Linked DNA regions of Homo sapiens: region 2 is linked to region 1. Evidence: promoter capture Hi-C in human tissues and cell types (Jung and others, 2019). All regions are on one chromosome and are shown on one strand. Each heading gives the region's core, a stretch centred on a gene start or on the middle of the fragment in contact. The rest is flanking DNA. Distances are from core to core; before and after follow the strand shown.

What was found. Contacts are between HindIII fragments. The study calls those that stand out against the background at their distance.
Region 2: a contact is called between a fragment that was not itself captured here and the fragment with the promoter of TRAF3IP2 in region 1, in 1 of the 25 tissues and cell types used here (spleen).

Annotation. Positions count from the first base shown.
Region 1 is chr6:111,600,408-111,607,363 of GRCh38, reverse strand. It overlaps TRAF3IP2 (TRAF3 interacting protein 2), which reads left to right and starts at 1,486. Exons shown (of 9, transcript NM_147686.4): 1 at 1,486-1,588. It also overlaps TRAF3IP2-AS1. RefSeq lists enhancers at 1-522, 1,368-1,417, 1,708-1,777. The HindIII fragment of the contact is 20,769 bases long and covers 1-3,967 here.
Region 2 is chr6:110,983,216-110,989,531 of GRCh38, reverse strand. RPF2 (ribosome production factor 2 homolog) reads right to left here. Exons shown (of 10, transcript NM_032194.3): 2 at 4,394-4,526; 3 at 467-504. Among named protein-coding and RNA genes, the nearest start is that of RPF2, 4.3 kb to the right of the region's middle. The HindIII fragment of the contact is 4,760 bases long and covers 1-3,630 here.

The DNA of each region.
Region 1 (6,956 bases), core at 237-2,736:
AATATCTCAGAGCCACTTTTTCATGTTAGTGGCTCAGATAATACATACATATTGATGATTTTTAATAGCTGCATCATTTTCTGCAAACCAAATGCAAACAACCTGTGTATACTGTGTTAAAAACAAGCTGCATTTTCTCTGCTTGTGGAATGTTGAGCAACCTGCTTCCTGTATCCTGCTTGAGCAGAACCTGGTACAATCTGAACAGGGATGCTCTGGGGCCTGTCCCCTTGATGAGAGTAGAGAGATAGCCGGCTGAGTGGACTGACACTTGGACCCCTTCAACAGGCAGACAAGTCCAGCACCAGGAGCATGGTGTGTCTGCCCAGGGCGCCCAGCTGGCCAGTGACATGGCTGAGTTCGTACCCAGGTCCTCCTGACTCCAAAGCTCCAGCTAACACTGCTCCCATTACTGACTGCTGCCCCGAAAGGCAGTTGTCTCTCTCTCTCTCTGTTCACATCGCTGGGTATCATCCTGCCTGCAGCGCTCCTTCATGCAATAAATTCTGCAGGCTACTGATTAAACAATGGGAAGGAAAGGGGAGAAAAAAAATCTTGAGGTCAGGAAAATGCAGCCAGAGGAGGTTAGTGTGCATGTGTGCATGTGTATGTATGTGTGTGTGTGTGTTCTTAAAATTAACCACTTTTTTTGTGCCTGACAATAGGGTGGTGTGTGTGCACAAGCCACAGGCATGTGTATGCTGTGTGTACACGTGTGTCCAGGAGCATGGTCAGTGAGCCCCCCCCCACCCCCCCAGTGGTTATGGGCAGCAAATACTGATTTTTTGGGTTTTTTTAAATTTTTTTTTTGAGACGGAGTCTTCGCTCTGTCGCCCAGTCTGGAGTGCAGTGGCGATCTCGGCTCACTGCAAGCTCCACCTCCCGGGTTCACGCCATTCTCCTGCCTCAGCCTCCCGAGTAGCTGGGACTACAGGCGTCCGCCACTACGCCCGGCTAATTTTTGTATTTTTTAGTAGAGACGGGGTTTCACCTTGTTAGCCAGGATGGTCTCGATCTCCTGACCTCGTGATCCTCCCGCCTCGGCCTCCTAAAGTGCTGGGATTACAGGCGTGAGTCACCGCGCTCGGCAATGCTGATGTTTTAAGCAGTTAGAGGAGGTGGAAGAAGCTCGACTCCCTCTTCTTCCCCATTATCTGCCCACAATCCCCTCCTTTGGAGCTGCTAATGATTACTAATTCTTAACATTCGAGTTCAATCTCCTCCCGGAGACACCCTCCCAGGCGAGGGCACTGCGACTACACTGAGGTTCTGCCCACTCCTGGGCAGCTTCTTAGCTGGGTGGCGAAAACAAAAATGCCGCCTAATTGGTCACTGGCCCTTTCTCATGAATGAAGGAGGTTTCTGTTTTAAGAAATAAAGTGACTCCTCAGCCGTTGATTCACTGCCCACAGGGAGATTTTGAGCAGAGGCTTCCTAGGCTCCGTAGAAATTTGCATACAGCTTCCACTTCCTGCTTCAGAGCCTGTTCTTCTACTTACCTGGGCCCGGAGAAGGTGGAGGGAGACGAGAAGCCGCCGAGAGCCGACTACCCTCCGGGCCCAGTCTGTCTGTCCGTGGTGGATCTAAGGTAAGTTATTCGGAGTTGCCACTTGCCTGGTCTTATTTCTTCACCTCTGACCTATTTCCCAAAGCACGCTGTTTCTCCTTTACTGAAACATTCTGCCTCTACTTTCCTCTGTGTTCGTCTCCCCTCCTTTAACTTGTTCGCACAGAGACCATCTTAGCTGAGAAAATGACAGTGAAGTTTGTGCTGCAAGGATGTGTTGCTAGTATAGTATTTCAGGCCAGCGAGCCCCGCCGGGTTAACCCTTTGAGGAGAGGAGGCTCGCACACGGGGACAGCTCGGAGCTGCCTGGGAACCATTCGTTTGGGTACTTAGTGTCCCCACAAGTTTCTCTCAAGAATTCAAGCCCCACTTCTCCAAAGAGAGAGCCAGGGATGGCAAAGATTAAGTAATTGGCTTTCAGCCCCAGAACACGTCAGTGGCAGTTTTCTCAATCCTTGTTTCGTGCAGGGGGGAAAAAAATCAACAGCACATTTTTGGGCCAGGAAGTTCTGCTGAGCTCTGTGCTGGCTGTGAGCCGCCTCCCGGCCCCTCTCCGCAGCCGCCCTCCAGCCCTCCCAGCCTGGCGCTGGACGGAGCCTTTGGGAACAAGGGGGAGAAATGCCAGAACTTGATCTTAGAAGCTAATCAAGCTTCTTGTGACTTTCAAGTTCAAGATGGTATCTTAGAATAGGGGGATTTTTTTTTTTTTAAAGGAACAGGAGAACAAGAGGCCAAATTTTTTAAAAGGACAAGAAACTTGGTTTCAAGTTCTTCACTTCTTGTGGTTCCATGACTTAGGCAATTCACTCTGACTCCACTAAGCCTGGATTTCTTCATCAGTAAATTGATGGGGGGTGGTGATCTAACATGAGTGTGTCAAATTCCCTTATAAAACAAAGCCAGGATAGTCCCAGAGGGGTAGTGGTAATGGGTGGTCTTCAAGACTTGTTTTGTTTACCGATTATTCACATATTTTAATTTTACCTCCCACTACCAGTTGGTTACCCCCTTGAGGAAAGGACTTTGTTTCCTGATATTTTTCTACCTCCCAGAATCCAGCATGCTACCAAATGCCTAGTAGGTGCTCACCCCCCTTCCATGTCAACTGCTTTGATTTCTGTTTCACTCGTCTGCTCTCAAGGCAAGAGGTAAAGCAGCAGTCAGGGCGAAAGGCTGGGAGACACGTGTCTCTGCGGGAGGGCTGCCTGGAATTGAGGCCTTATTACTGGCTCTAGCCAAATAGGAGAAAACAGGGAGTTTCTCGAATTAGTTCATGTCCCATTTGGGTTACCCAGGAAGGATAGTCTGTGCTATTGTCCACAGAGTCAAGGCAGGCCAGAGAACTGGCAGACAAGCCCAGCTCCAGAAGCCAGAGTTACTGCTGTAGCTGGACCTGGAAACCACTCCTCAGCTGGACCAGTCACTGTGTGTGGGGCCTTTAATGGGAGGGGAAGGGAAACTATGAAACACATCCTAATACCATGTAAGGGTGATGACTGTGATTAGAGACATTATTAGATGGCGGATACACAGAATCCTTAACTTTTTCCAGACCGTGACTTAAAAAAAAATTGTCATTGTTTCTTTTTGGCAATTACTTGCCATCAATACAGTTCAAACAGGCCCTAGCTGACTGGGATGGGCTGGTGCAGGACTTTTGGTTTCTGTGGGATGTCCTGGTGTAGTCCGTGTCATGTTTTTAGGCATTTCTCTCTATTCCCCTGGGATGAAAGGACAGGAATTTCAAGATATTTCACCTGCAATGAGTTCCTGATTTTATTTTCAAACAACGATGCACCATTATCTGAAAGCAGGCTAACTGTTGTGCACTTGCCAGCCTCGCTCTAATCCTTAAAGGCCACACACCACAGTCATTCTTAATCTGCTGCTGCAGCTACCAGTCACTCCATGATGGAGCATCAAAAGATGGATAATGTAGTTACTCTGCTCTGTTCCTTGCATGGGGTGGGTTAAACAGAAGTGAGGTCTGAGTAATGTACCAACATGTCGGATAGAAAGGTTCTTAACTCAGGGTTACTCATTTTTGGAAGGTGTAGAGACAGGAAATGTTAAAGCCTGCTTCTCCTGGGATTAAGGAGTTAGTGACTTTCAAATGCTCTGAAAAGAAAAAGAAGAGGAGAAGACAGTCATATCTGCAGGCATTCTTCAACAGGCATTCAGAAAGATTATGGTGGGGTAGTTTGTCTAAATGAAATCTTTGTTTTACACGTTGTAGAATGGAAATCTCAGGAATATCCTGAATTCAAATCATTTTTCTTCTGCAGGCAATTTTAAATTAGCTTCTAAAAACATATATGAATTGCAGGCAACTGCTGCAGAAAAAAAAGAGTGAACACAGATGAGGCATATTCAACTTTAAATTCCTTTCAGATCCAATGAAATGACCCCTAATGTTTGATCACATTTCCTTATCAAAACAATCCTGCAGTCTGAAGGATTTTTCCATGAGAAAGTGTCTGAGGACTGGAATCAAGAAGCTGCCCCCCGGGCCTCTCCTGTTTCTTCCCAATGCGTTGTCACCAAGATATTTTTAGTTCATGAAACTCAGGCTGTCCTTTCTCCCACTTATGGTCTTTGCCTCCCGTGCCCAGCAGGCCTCCTAGAAGCACACATGTGCTTGGCTGTGACTACTCAGCTCACTCTGTAGCTGTGTGTGCACGCCTTGTGTGTGTGTGTGTGTGTGTGTGTGTGCACACCTTGTGTGTGCACAGACCTTCCCGGATACCAGGAGTTGTAGACTGGCTGAAGAAGGGTGGGCTTCCATCCATGGGGTGATCCTTAGGTCTGTGCTGGTTTGGCTTGGTTCCCTGATAAGGCAGCTGAACTCAAGCCCTTTAGGAGGGCCAGGACTGACCGGAGCTCCCAGCCTGTGCCCCTCTCCTCGCACCCCACAGGCCGCACCCCACAGACTGAGGCTGCCTGGGGTCTTGGCAGCTCCCTCAGCAATGAGGGATACTTGCTCTCCGCTGCCTCATTGTTTCCCTGCAGTCAGGATGCCAGTGTTTTTTCCCTTTCCCCTTCCCAGAGTCAACAGGTCTCCCTCCCCGCTCTGAACTCTCTTCCTACTCTGAGCTGTCTGTCCAAACTCTTCCTGGCCTCCCAGCTTACCCTATGACACTCTTACCTTTCACCTATATTCATTCTTTCCCTTCTCTTCCAACTGCCCCTTCTCATACCCAGCACTACATACAAATTACAAGTAAATAAGTGTCTCTCCTACACCAATAAAAGGCAAATACAAAAAAATCCTTCAGCGTTTCCCCACTTTCCTTACTTCTCTTCCGTTCTCCTTCCTTCCTTTCTCTCCCTTCCTCTTCCTCTCTTGGTTTTTCCTTTCTACCCCTTCCTCTCCTTCACTCCGTGGCTGTGGCTGAATTAGGGATCACACATGTGCTTAGAGAAACCATCTTATCTGAAGAAACAAAAAAACAAAAACCAAAACAATGACAACGACAGAAAAAAAAAAAAAACATGGGCTGGTTTGAGGTTGTTCTCTAAATGTTTATTATAACTTCTAATGTGATGGAGTCAGTGTGTTCCCATTAGTCCTTCTCCTCCTCATTTAGTAGCTCAGAGGAGTCCCAGAGCAAACTTCCTCAAATCAGGTCGGTTCATACTGCACTGCCTTCAGCCTGATGTGAGTCTTACTGTGCTGGGTTTATGTCCAAGGGCCAGTAAATATTCCCTTCCTTCCAGGGCTCACCACTGTTTCAAATCCTCTGGCAAGCCCAGTGGAAGAACTTCTCTGTATGGGAAATTCAGCAAGTAAACTTGGAAGTATTTGTTCATTGGAGTTTGAATCTGAGCCAAACAGTTCACTCAAAACCAACCTTCCACTCAGCAAACCAGTGTTATGAAAGTTTGCATGCATTTGGGCAGGAAACAAAGGACATTAATGAGTTTAAAGATTTTTTTTTAAATCCATGACTTTTGGACATTTATTAAAAAGATTACTCTCTGGGGAATGAAGTAAGGCCTTGGGAATCTTGTAATTGAAAGTTTCTGATCCGAAGTAGATCTCAGGATCCTCCCAGCTGTAAATTTATAGATTTCTTTTTAATGTCCACCTGAAATATTCATGCTGTGTGTCTCTAGGACGCTTCAAACCTATTCCTGACTCAAAGAAAGCTTAAGAAAAAATCCAAGCAGTTGTGATCACCAAGGCCTGATTATGGAGGAGCTGTTAATATGGTTTATTAATTACTCAGGCTGCTCACTCCTGTCCTTCCTCTGTTCCTTGCTGTGCTATTTGTCTTCTTCTGGGGACATAACACCTTCATTAAATCCCATCCGTCCTTGCCTTAGAGTTGTCCCCTGGAAGATAGCTCCCCTCTAGATGCATCACCATTTATCATCACCCTTTGTTGGTGCTCTGTCAACCAGTTTTCAATTTATTTTGAATTCAGTTAATGATTAAAATTTAATGAGATCCAGTCAAATGCTTTTCTCAAATCAAGATGCCTCTGCAGCCTCATCTGTATCCTCTTGTGATGGCGTGAAGGAAAGCCATGGCAGATTTCCAGCCTGGTGATGCTGTACAGAACACAGGTGGCCTGCTTCCATGCCTCCTCAGCTTCAAGGTGAATGGCTCTGAAGCATATTTATTACAGAATCTCCTAGGGGTTATGTGGCTTCCCCATCCCCTTTCTTCCCTCCCAATAGCTGAACCAGTCAGTGCTCCCAACCGAGATGCAAGCGGTTAAGTGCACAGGATCTGGTGCCAAACCGCTTATATTTGAATCACAGCTCTGCTACTTAATAGCCATGTGACCTCGGAAAAGTTACTTACCTTCTCTATGCCTTGCTTTTCCTGTCTGTAAAATGAGTCTGACAATAGTACTTAGGAAATTAGAGTGGGTGTGAGGATTAAGTAAGTTAATATATCTATCACACTTGGAACAGCATTTCCCACGTAGTCACCATTCAATAAATATTAACAATGATTGCTAACAAAGAGTAAAGTTCCTTAAGTATGTCAGTTTCATTAGGTTTGTATTTTGGCTTATCAGTGTACAATCTATATCAACAGTAAACTACAACCCTAGAGCCAATGGTTACCATGACCTGTTTTTAGCACCAGCCTGTTGCTCAGAATGGTTTTTATATGTTTAAAGGGTGTCTTTTCTTAAAAAAAATAAAAATAAAAAAGGAGCAGAATATGAAACAGACACAGCATGTGGCCCATAAGGCTTAAACTATTTACTATCTGTCCCCTTTGCAGAAAAAGTTTGCCAACCCGTGATTTATATGGTTTAATGGAAAGAGCTTGGAGATCTAAAGGCTTGATTTGGCTTCACCCATCACTTGTTAAGTGACTATGGAAAAGCTTCTCAATGTGTCTAAGCCTCTGTAAAACAGGAATGGCAAA
Region 2 (6,316 bases), core at 1-2,500, 620 kb after region 1:
TTGTAGTGAGCAGAGATCATGCCACTGCACTCCAGCCGGGCGACAACAGGACTCCGTCTCAAAAGAAGGAAAAAAGAAAAACTGGTGCTAATCAAATATGTCTGTCATTTGATTAACATGAGTGAATCGGTGTTAATTTATTAGTTTTGATCATTGCATTACGGTTATGCAAGATGTAACATTAGGGGAAGCCAGGTGAAGGGTATATGGGAATTCTGCATTATTTTTGCACTTTTCTGTAAATCTGTATTTCAAAATAAAATATATATGCTATGGTTACAACTATGCAAGGACATTCAATACAAATGAAAAAAACAGACCAAAAGAAAGAAATTAAAATATTAATAACTGTAAGGAATTTTAATATCTTTTTAAAAAGTTTTTGTTTTCCAAATCTTCCATAAAGTGGTTACTTTTATAATGAAACAAAATCATTTAAAATACAGTAAAAGAAATCATGACTTACTTTTTATATAGTACACCGTATGGTTTTTTCAGTGCATACTGTAAAACAAAATTTATAGCTTTCAAAACAAAACACATTCTGAAAAGCAGAAATAAAAATAAAGCATCATAACAGTCACTCTCCAAGATTGCTCTGGGGCCTCAATCTTATTCTGAGGGCTTCTGCCTGGCTCCCTTTTCATCACTTACAGTAACTTGAAATGTAAGCTTAATATTCTTGGACTAGACTTTCCTATTTAAAAGTTTCTATGCCCTGTCAATAGTCTATCCAACTTAAACAATTTCCTTCATTTCTTTAAACTCGACTTAGTCCAGTCTCTCTCTAGGGAAACAATTCCAGGTGCAGTGGCTCACGCCTGTAATCCCAACACTTTGGGAGGACAAGGCAGATCACTCAAGCCCAGGAGTTCGAGACCAGCCTGGGCAACATGGCAAAACCCTGTCTCTACAAAAAACTGCAAAAATTAGCCAGGCATAGTGGTGCATGCCTGCAGTCCCAGCTACTTGGGAGGCTAAGGCGGGAGGATCACCCGAGCTCAGGAATTCGAGGCTGTGGTGAACCGTGATTGCACCACTGCACTCCAGCTCTGGTGATAGAGTGAGACCCTGTCTCAGAAAAAAAAAAAAAAAAAGTAGTAGACAAAAACAGAAAAAATAAATTCTATCACGAAAGGCTGACAGATTGAAATAATGTTGCGTGGAGATCAGAAAACTTAGAAACAGTAATAATGATGACAATTAGAATACTAGCCAGAGGTTAAACACAGCTCTTTAAAAAATGCCTATTATTCAATGTTCTTCATTTTTTTCCTAGTTCTACCTATCCACAAATAATCATTCATTTTATTTTATTTATTTATTTTTGAGACAGGGTCTCACTCTGTTGCCCAGGCTGGAGTGCAATGGCGTGATTAAAGCTTACTGCAGCCTGAAACTCCAGGGCTCAGGTGATCCTCCCATCTCAGCCTCCCAAGTACAGACACATGCACCACGCCCAGCTAATTTTTGTATTTTGAGTGGAGATGGGGTTTCACCATGTTGTCCAGGCTGTATTTTATTATTTTTTTAAATTTAATTTATAGAGATGGGGTCTCACTTTGTTGTCCAGGCTGTCATCCTAGGCTTAAGTGATCCTCCCACCTCAGCCTCCCAAAGTGCTGGGATTACAGGTGTGAGCCACCACACCTGGCCTATAATCATTTATTACTTGTATGGCCAGTACTGCTCTACCATAGAGAATAACAAAGATGTCATCAGGTACTACCTTGCATTAGAGAAATGGGTAAATGAGGGAAACAATGAAAAATAAGGTATAATAATCATTCATCAACTATCAGAGTTGGTGAACAAAGAAAATGCAACAGTAAAATCTACCTTTTTAAGTACTAAAACTTTTGATGATTCTTGGCCAACTATTTCCCTGTTTCCGTGTAATAAACATTGCCACCTCTTCTTGATGACTCAGAGTCATCATGATGAATTTTAATTATTGTAGTAATCTGTAATATTGTGCTGCTTTTAAAGCTTACTTAAATATGCAGGGTCATTGTGCTGATGGATACTAGAAGGAGAGGGGCAGTTTCCCGTTAGCACAATGAAATTCAGACAAACATTTCAAAAAAGGGATGGGCCTATATAAGGCATTCAGACATCTGAATTGACTATGCTTATCAGGCATAGAGTTTGGTCAAGTTTAAAATATATTCAAAGCCAGGCATGGTGGCTCACTCCTGTAATCTCAGCACTTTGGGAGGCCGAGGCGGACAGATCATGTCAGGTCAGGAGTTTGTGACCAGCCTGGCCAACATGGTGAAACCCTGTCTCTACTAAAAGAACACAGAAATTAGCTGGGTGTGGTGGCTCCCAGCTACTTGGGAGGCTAGAGGCAGGAGAATCGCCTGAACCCGGGAGTCAGAGGTTGCAGTAAGCCAAGATGGCACCACTGCACTTCAGCCTGGGCAACAGCGTGAGACTCCACCTCAATAACAACAACAAAAATGTATTCGATTACTTAATTGATTTAATTCAAAGATCTATTGGCTGTACTCAAGGCCTAATTAGTCAAATAACCTACTAGATATCTCCACATACTATGTCTTTTTTTTTTTTTTAGTTGGAGTCTTGCTCTGTTACCCAGGCTGGAGTAAGTGCAATGGCGTGGTCTCAGCTCACTCCAACCTCCATCTCCCAGGTCCAAGCAGATTTTCCGGCCTCAGCCTCCCTAGTAGCTGGGATTACAGGCGCCCACCACCATGGCTGGCTAATTTTTGCATTTTTAGTAGAGACAGGATTTCACCGTGTTAGCCAGGCTGGTCTCGAACTCCTGACCCCGTGATCCGCCCACCTCGGCCTCCCAAAGTGCTGGGATTACAGGTGTGAGCCACTGTGCCTGGCCCATACTATGCCTTTCTTTCATAGATTACATATATATTGAGTACCTACTATGTCCAGACACTGGGCTGTACACTAGGCTACAGAGGTAGAAAAAACAAAGCTTTTATTTTCATTACTTAAATTACATGTCCCAAACCGAACCTTTCACCTTTCCCTCCAAACCTGCTCCGCTTGATACATTTTCTAATTGGCATTATTGCCCATCAGGCACTCAAGCCAAACACCTGGGAAGTCATACTTTTCACTAGTTCCCAACTCTTCTTTCCTCAACATCTATTCTTTCTGGTCATTTCTCATTTTCATTGCCACCACTGGACTCCAGATGCTCTTCACCTAGCTGGCAGCAATGGCTTAGTTTCCTACATTTGCTCTCAACCCTCTCTAATCAAGCCAATTAAAAGGACTGATGGTATCTCTTGCTTAATATCTTTCAATGATTACACGGAGCTTTCAGATTAGAATTCAAATTTCATGTTACTATGTGACCCATGCCTCCTCTTCTAGCCTCATCTAGCCCACTCTCCTTTGGCCATGCCCAATTATTTACAGTTCTCCAAATGCATCAATGCTCCTTCATACTCCCTTTTGCACAAACTTCTTTCTCAGCCTCAGAGGATCTTCTCTTTCTCTCCCACTTCTTGCACCAACTTCTCCTTCAAAATGAAGCTGCAGTGTTATCTCTGGGGGAACCTACCCTGTGTGGGGGTCCCCCTATGTGATTTTTTTTTTTTTTTTTTGAAATGGAGTCTCTCTCTGTCACTCAGGCTGGAGCAGTGGCACAATCTCGACTGACTGTGACCTCCACCTCCCAGGTTCAGGCGATTCTCCTGCCTCAGCCTCCCGAGCAACTGGGACTACAGGCGCCCGCCACCACACCCGGCTAATTTTTGTACTTTTAGTAGAGACGGGGTTTCACCATGTTGGCCAGGCTGGTCTCGAACTTCTGACTTCGTGATCCTCCTGCCTCGGCCTCCCAAAGTGCTGGGATTACAGGCGTGAACCACCGTGCCTGGCCTCCCCTATGTGATTTTAACTGTTTCCCACCCTACCCTGTCCATGCCTCCAGCACAGCACAGTGTAAGAACTTTTTACATGTCTATCTCTCTAAGCTCACTGAAAGAACTGTGTCTCACCTATTAATTCCCAGCAGAGGCACAGTAACCGGTGTTGTTGAATGACTAAATATACAGCAATATGCAGTTACTTCTCTTTACAAATTAGATTTTTTCCTAAAATGTAAGTAAGCCAAATTCTAGTAATTGAAAACAGTTTAAATTTACTAAGGGAGACCTTCACTCTACCAGACCCACCTGTGCTCCTAAAAAACAATAATAAAATTTACTAAGAGAACTAGTTGCTTTAAGAAAAGGTGCCACGCAAGGTAAATAAACCCCCAACTTTAGCTCTTCTCTAAGACTAGTAGTTCTTATGGTAAGGCAAGCTTATCTACGTATTTCTCCGACAGCCCATCCTAGCATGCTGAAAATTCTAAAATGACTTCAATACCTTTTAAAGATTAAGTATATATACTTACCACATCTTTAAGTACTTTTGTCACTGTTGCATTTGCATTTCCCCCTTTAATCAGCATGGCATTTTTAATATTTTCATTGAGTTTCGGTTCTCTCTTCTCAAGGAATCTCTTGGCTCTTTTCGTTTTGGGCTTTCTGTTCAGAAAAGCACAATTCATAACTATTTAAACATTTTCCTCACATTGCAAAGCCATGACTTAACTAATATGAAAATTCTTAAAAACATATTTGTCACTTAGGGTTCCACCCTTAAAAAAAATCTCACTTTCTTTTTTTTGTTTGTTTTTTTTTGTTTGTTTTTGAGATGGAGTCTCACTCTGTCACCCAGGCTGGAGAGTGATGGCACAATCTTGGCTCACTGCAACATCCACCTCCTGAGTTCAAGCAATTCTCCTGCCTCAGCCTCCCGAGTAGCTAGAATTACAGGCACACACCACCACGCCTGGGTAATTTTTGTATTTTTAGCAGAGACAGGGTTTCGCCATGTTGGTCAGGCTATTCTCGAACTACTGACCTCAGGTGATCCGCTCACCTCGGCTCCCAAAGTGCTGGGATTACAGGTGCGAGCCACAAGGGCCGGCCAAAATCTCACTTTTTTGGTAGATATTAGTAAAAGATATTTCCTTATTATTGTTAAATAAGTGTTTTGATAGCTTTTAAAAAAAAGCTTTCATTTTTGTATTCCCACCATTCTTTTATTACTGCTCTTTCCAATCTTTTTTTTAAGTAAAAAATAAAAGGCTCAAGTAAATACTGTTGCTGTTTTTTTTCTCTTACTCTTTCTTACTCTTCTTTTTTCTTCAAACTTTAAGTAGTCAAACTGTATCCTGTACCCTAATACAAAGAATTGAGCATCAACTGCTGATCAACCTGTGGACATTTACTAAACATAAGACTAACGACTGCTTATTTTTCTTTTAGGTTTAAGACCACAATGCCTGCCAGGAAGTATACACTGTTGCACTCCAACATCATTGCTGAGAATGCCAGTATTATTGCCAACAATGGGGAATAATAAGGCTGATGTTTACATGGAGTCACTCTATTAAGGCTTAATCTTCACCACAATCCTGAGAGTTACAATTCTTATTTATTTATTTATTTATTTTTTTGAGACAGAGTCTCGCTCTGTCGCCCAGGCTGGAGTGCAGTGGTGCGATCTCGGCTCACTGCAAGCTCCGTCTCCCAGGTTCACGCCATTCTCCTGCCTCAGCCTCCCGAGTAGCTGGGACTACAGGCGCCCGCCACGACGCCCGGCTAATTTTTTGTATTTTTAGTACAGACGAGGTTTCACCGTGTTAGCCAGGATGGTCTCGATCTCCTGACCTCGTGACCCACCCCCCCGCCTCAGCCTCCCAAAGTGCTGGGATTACAGGCGTGAGCCTCCACGCGCGAGTTACAATTCTTATCTTCACTTTACAGATGAGGCAATTGAACAGACAGGTAATGTGCCCAAGATCACACAGCAAGTAAACAGGCCAATTTTTAAAATGAGCTAGGGCTGGGAGGTGGCCCACAGCCTGTAATAAAAACACTCTAGGAGGCCAAGGTGGATGGATCACTGAGCCCAGAAGTTCGAGACCAGCCTGGGCAACAATGCAAAACCCTGTCTCTACAAAAAATACAAAAATTAGCTGTGGTGGTGTGCGCCTATAGTCCCAGCTACTCAGCAGGCTGAGGTAGGAGGACTGCTTGATCCCAGGGAGGTCGAGGCTGCAGTGAGCTGTGATGGGGCTACTGCACTCCAGCCTGGGTGACAGAGTGATACCCTGTCTCAAAAAAAAACAAATTTTTTAAAGCTAGATTTAAAAATTCGTCTAGACCAATTACCCTGTAAAATATGAAGGGAAAATAAATTCATTATTCTGACTTTATGATGTGACAGTAGGAGTGGCATGTTTTTACACACTTCTGTTCAAAAGAGG